Regions from separate parts of the Homo sapiens genome. Here region 1 is linked to region 2. Evidence: promoter capture Hi-C in 16 types of primary human blood cells and fetal thymus (Javierre and others, 2016). All regions are on one chromosome and are shown on one strand. The core of a region is centred on a gene start or on the middle of the fragment in contact, and the rest is flanking DNA. Distances in the headings are between cores, read along the strand shown. Region 1 holds the start of PRKCG (protein kinase C gamma). Region 2 overlaps CNOT3 (CCR4-NOT transcription complex subunit 3).

What was found. The method cuts DNA at HindIII sites, captures the fragments that hold promoters and counts their contacts. A CHiCAGO score of 5 or more calls a contact.
Region 1: the fragment with the promoter of PRKCG here is called in contact with a fragment that was not itself captured in region 2 in 1 of 17 cell types (fetal thymus); the score reaches 5.1 in fetal thymus.

Annotation. Positions count from the first base shown.
Region 1 is chr19:53,880,774-53,883,720 of GRCh38, forward strand. It overlaps PRKCG (protein kinase C gamma), which reads left to right and starts at 1,424. Exons shown (of 18, transcript NM_002739.5): 1 at 1,424-1,891; 2 at 2,390-2,421. The coding sequence starts at 1,722. RefSeq lists an enhancer at 1,876-2,427. The HindIII fragment of the contact is 17,886 bases long and covers 1-2,947 here.
Region 2 is chr19:54,155,128-54,157,861 of GRCh38, forward strand. It overlaps CNOT3 (CCR4-NOT transcription complex subunit 3), which reads left to right. Exons shown (of 18, transcript NM_014516.4): 18 at 182-554. The coding sequence ends at 280. It overlaps LENG1 (leukocyte receptor cluster member 1), which reads right to left. Exons shown (of 4, transcript NM_024316.3): 3 at 1,636-1,898; 4 at 34-813. The coding sequence ends at 594. Among named protein-coding and RNA genes, the nearest start is that of LENG1, 3.2 kb to the right of the region's middle. The HindIII fragment of the contact is 5,805 bases long and covers 1-2,734 here.

The DNA of each region.
Region 1 (2,947 bases), core at 174-2,673, 270 kb before region 2:
GAGACATAGAGAGACATTCATAGAGCCGGAGACACAGATTCAGAGTCAGAGAGACATAGACATTCATAGAGCCAGAGACACAGATTCAGAGAGTCAGAGAGATGAATAGATTCAGAGAGCCAGAGACACAGGGAGAGTGAATCACAGACACAGAGGGACGGGGAGATCCCCAGAAACAGAAAGAGATTCATAGAGCCAGAGAGACAAATAGAGATTGGGTCAGAGAGAAAGGGACAGAGACAGAGACAGAGAAGAGAAGAGGGAGAGAGATTGGGTCAGAGAGAAAGGGACAGAGACAGAGAAGAGAAGAGGGAGAGAGAGACTGAGTCATAGACAGGAGAGAGACCCCCCTAGCATCAGAGAGAGAGAGAGAGATCAACAGAGCCAGAGAGGGACAAGTACAGAGAAACAGATGGAACCAGAGAGATATAGGAAGAGACAAACAAAAACAGAGACGGAGTTGCAGAACCGGAGGAAGGGAGAGAGACAGAGACAAAGGCATTTATAAAGACGGGTGGAGGTGAGGAGAGAGAGGGAGAGACAGGGGCAAGCATTTAGAGAGTGACTCCCAGAGAGGAAGACAGAGACGGACTCCCAAAGAGATCAAGTTGCAGAGGGAGGGGGAGACAGAGTCACAGCCTGAGAGAGAATAGAGATTCACAGAGCCAGAGAGACAAAGACAGGGAAAGAAACAAACTCAGGGAGACAGAGGCGGAAGAATTTATCAGACGTAGAGGGAGAGACAGAGGGAGACTGATTCACAGTGAGGCAGACCAAGACCCCGAGAAGAACCACGACACCAAGACCCAGAGATGGCGACAGATACAGATGGAGACACACAGCAGAGGAAATAGAGAAATAGAAAGAAATAGAAACAGCATTTCTCGGAGACAGGGAAAAGAAAACAGATCCACTGAGAGGCAGAAACAGAGACACATCGAGAAAGCTCGCTCCAGGAATAGAGGGAGAGGGACAGAGGTCACAAGAAAGACACACGCAGGCAGAGAGCTACACAAATAATGGAGAGGCCAGGGGAGGAAATAAAGACTCAGCCGGCATCGGAGAAAGTGAGAACCTTAGCGCCCTGCCTGTCCACTGCTGGACCCCTAGCGTGGAGCATAAAGTTTGTTGAAGGAAGGAGAGGGGCAGGGTCAGACACAGGGACCCCAGGGCGCCCACAGGACACACGAGGCACCCTAGTGGGGGAGGAACGCGGGGCAGGATGACAGATTGCAGGGTGGTGGGGGGGAGCCAGGCTCAGAGGATGCCCCTCCCTCCAGCCAGCCCCCGGAGTGGGTGTGTGCACGTGTGGGGGGCGGGGAGGGAGGACATTTGTCCCGTGTCTCCGGGAGGGGAGCGCCTTTAAGCCGAAACCCCGCCCTCTCGGTCGTCCTGGCAACGCCTCCCCCAACCCGGGGCTCCCACATTTCAGCAGGTGCCGGAGCTGGAGCTCCCACCGCCGCCGCCCGTGCCTCCGGCTGCCGGCGCCCCTGCCTTTGGCTCTTCCTCCCCACTCGCCCGCTCCCCCTGGCGGAGCCGGCGCGCCCGGGGTGCCGCTCCCTGCCTGGCGCGCTCCGCACCTGGAGGTGCCTTGCCCCTCTCCTGCCCACCTCGGAATTTCCCTGTGGCTCCTTTGATCCTTCGAGTCTCCAGCTCCTCTCCCTTCCACCTGTTTCCCCCAAGAAAGGCAGGATCCTGGTCCCTGCTACGTTTCTGGGGCCATGGCTGGTCTGGGCCCCGGCGTAGGCGATTCAGAGGGGGGACCCCGGCCCCTGTTTTGCAGAAAGGGGGCCCTGAGGCAGAAGGTGGTCCACGAAGTCAAGAGCCACAAGTTCACCGCTCGCTTCTTCAAGCAGCCCACCTTCTGCAGCCACTGCACCGACTTCATCTGGTGAGGGAAGGGGGCTGGGGGACTGGGGGACGAGGGGACTAGGGGTGCAGACTCCTATCACGCCGACCCCTGTGGAAGGAAGAAGGAGGGGGCTGTAGTCCCGACTCCCAGGTTCTAGGATGGCCAGGGAACGCTGGGAGCTTCGACTCCTGGGTTTCAGTGAGGAGGAGGCTGGTTCCTGGAGTGCTGGGTCCGAGGGAGGAGGAGGCTGGAGGACAGAGGTCCTGGAGTCTTGGGTCTGAGGGAGGAAGGGCCTGGGGGGCTGGGAGCCTGGATTCCTGGGTCTGAAGGAGGAAGAAACTGGGGGCTGAACTCCAGTCTAAGGGAAGAAGGGCTGGGGGCCAAAATTTCTGGGTTCTAGAAAGAGGAGGTGGCCGGGGCTTGGACACCTGGGCCCTGCGGGAGGAGGGTCAGAGAGCGCAGGCCCCCTGTGGCTCGCAGAGGTTGGGGGTCCAGGTACCCCTTTCTGCACTGACCTAGGATCCCTGACTCTTCCAGGGGTATCGGAAAGCAGGGCCTGCAATGTCAAGGTAAGAGCTGGGGACCGGGGCTCCTGGGACCCTCAGGAGGGTGGAGGCTGGGGCCCCACAGCTGAGGCTGCTTGACACACGTGTTCTCTGGTCCCCAGAGAGGCGCGGGGGAGCCCGGGGCGGGGGGTGTGGCAGAGACACAGCCTGTGGTGGGGAGGGAGCTTTGATGGTGGGGCCACCGCGGAGGTGGTGCTGGGGGCCCCTCCCTCGGCCGGCTCCAGGTGGGGACAGATATTTGGAGAATCTGTTGCCATGGGAACATGGAGATTTGGAAAAGGGGAGCTGAAGGGGGGAAGGGGGAGGGGGCTGGAGATGCAAAGTCAGAGCCCCCCCCCACCCCAGGCTGCCGTCGCCATGACAACACCAGCCGTCCTAGGCAGGGGCAGGCCGGGTGGGGTCACCAATGGGCGAGTGGGGGCCGGGCGGGGCCGGCAGTTCTGGGGGGCGGGAGAGGGGGGCGAGTCCTTGAGCACCAGCTGCTACTGCTGAGAACAGAGTGAGTCAGGGTGGGGGGCGGGCCGGCAGC
Region 2 (2,734 bases), core at 20-2,519:
GATAACATTTCCTACCCAAGAAGAACCTTGTGAGGATGGATGAGAGTGTGTGCGTGCAGGGCAGCTGGCCCGGTGCCTGACACATCCACAGCCCTAAGAATTGTCCCCTTTGTCTGTTGGTCCGGCCCAGATCCCAGACCACCTCCTCGTCCACTCACTGACCGCCTTCTCCCCCGGCCAGGGCACCTACATCTACTTTGACTACGAGAAGTGGGGCCAGCGGAAGAAGGAAGGCTTCACCTTTGAGTACCGCTACCTGGAGGACCGGGACCTCCAGTGACACCGGCCCCTCCCTCTACCCACCCCCTTCCCCCGCATGCTGATCCCCCTGCCCAGGTGAGGGCCCTGCCCTGGAAGACTGGAGGGAGGCCCCAAGCCACGGGGCATCCCCCTCTCCCAGGAAGCAGGGAGGGGGCCGGGAGGTTTTCCTCTCAGCCCCACCCTGGGGGCCCGGGGGCGAGGGCTGCCCCCTCCTCCCCTCCCCAGTGAGGGACATTTTTTGGTAAACCTATTTTCATTTTGGAAAATATTTATGAATAAATAGTTTTATATGACGGCTGGCAGCAGCGGCCTCTCCTGTACCCCCTCAGGAGTCAGTGAGTAAGGTGAGGGTCCTGCTGGCGGGGGCGCCGGGCCAGCTGGGGGTTGAATTGGGAGTTGTACCGCCGCCGCCGGTCATCCGTCTCGTCTTCTTCCGGCTGACCCTCCTGTAGTGCCCGGCCTTGGACCCGGGCCAGCAGGGCCTCTGCCCGAGACCTCTCAGCTGCTTCCCTCCGCAGACGTTCAGCTCGAAGCTGGTCCAGGGATGGAGGCCTGTGGGGAGAGGAGTGAGGTCAGAAAGCTGGTAGCCCCTAGGAGGCCATTCCCCCAACCTCTCCCATAGAGGGAGCTGCCGCCTGGAAGCCCCGCTGCATCCAGCACACCCCAGCCTCAGCTCCTTAGGCCTGCTGGAAGCAGCCACTTGGTGCTGGGACGCCATGGGCACGTCTCTGGCCTTCCCTTCTGTGGGCTTTGGTCCTCCCCAGTCTTTAAAATCTGATGCTTCTCCAGGTCAAGAAAGCACACTTAGCAGCCCCCTGGCCCTCAGTTTCCCTTTCTAGAGGAAAGAAGACTACAGGCAGTGTACCCCCTCTAGACCAGGGGTGCAGCATCCTGGAGACAGAAGCCTGCTTTTACTCTCTAACCCAGCAGCTCTCAAACTCTTTGGTCTCAGGACCCCTTTATACTCTTAAAAACCAAGGACCCCAAGAGCTTTTGTTTAAATGGGTTCTCTTAATATGCTGCAAATCATTAGTGAAAACTAAGAAAGTTTGGACACAAGCATCTGCCATTGGCCATCAGAGTGAGGGTGTCTCCCCATCACACAGCCTCTGGAAACCTGCACTACATGCCTGAGAACACGAGTGGAAAAGTCCACCAGTGTCAGGAAAATAGGCTTGACACCACAGCACCCCGGGAAAGGGTGTCAGGACCCCTAGGGCTCCCTGGACCACATGCTGAGAACCACTTCTCCACCTAGCCAGCCCTTCACGGAGTCCCTGGCTGTCCTGACCAGAGACGCTGCAGTGCCCATGCTGGGCTGCTGCCAAGCCCTGAAGGTCTGGGCCCTGGTCTGCCGAGGTGGGGTCTTCTTACTCCTTGGGTCGCTGCTTCTCAGACCCCTCCTTTTCCTTTCTGCTGCGACTGCCTTCATCACCGCCGTGCTGTCTCTTCTTCCCCAGATGCTTCTGCATCTCCCGCAGAGGGTCCAGACGGCTCTTGATCTTCTCATCTGGGGCTGGGCCGGGCGGGGGGCCCCCTCGCCCTGGGGGTAGCTGGTACCAAGGGGGTTGAGTCTGTGCCTCCGCTGCACTCTGGCCCAGGTATGTCAGGATGCCCAGAGCTTTCTCTTGCCTCTCCTGAGGGGGCCAGGAAATACAAGAGATGTGATATAATCTTTCAAGGTGTCAGGTGTGTCTCCCTGACACAGGTATCTAAGCGAACAGGTATCTAAGGCTTGTTATGAACCAGTTGGACCAGGTGCTGGGGATGGAAGACAAACAGAGGCAAAGCTCCCCCTGGGGGGACAGTAGCAGGTACAGTAACAGCAGGGGAAGGAGGGGACAAGTGGAGCCACTTGAGTGTTCAGAGGCAGGCATCTTTGCAGAGAGACTTGAAGAGAAGCCTGAAGGGATCAAGCAAAGCAGAGGAGCGATGGGTGGGGTCAGCAAGTCCAGAGACAGCAGATAAATGACAAGAGCTGATGTACCTCTTTTTTTTGAGATGGAGTCTCGCTCTGTTGCCCAGACTCGAGTGCAGTGGCACGATCTCGGCTCACTGCAACCTCTGCTTCCCAGGTTCAAGCAATCCTCCTACCTCAGCCCCCCGAGTAGCTGGGATTACAGGCACACACCACCATGCCCAGCTAATTTTTGTATTTTTAGTAGAGACGGGGTTTTGCCATGTTTGGCCAGGCTGGTCTTGAACTTCTGACCTCAGGTGATCCACCCACGTTGGCCTCCCAAAGTGCTGGGATTACAGGCGTGAGCCACCATGCACAGCCACTGATGTACCTTTTACACTTGATCTTAGCCAAAAAGCAAGAGGCGATTGATTCACTTTTTGTTTGATTGTTTTGAGATGGGGTCTCGCTCTGTCACCCAGGCTGGAGTGCAGTGGCGCAATCTCGGCTTACTGCAGCTTCCACCTCCTGGGTCAAGCGATTCTCCTGCTTCAGCCTCCCTGGGATTACAGG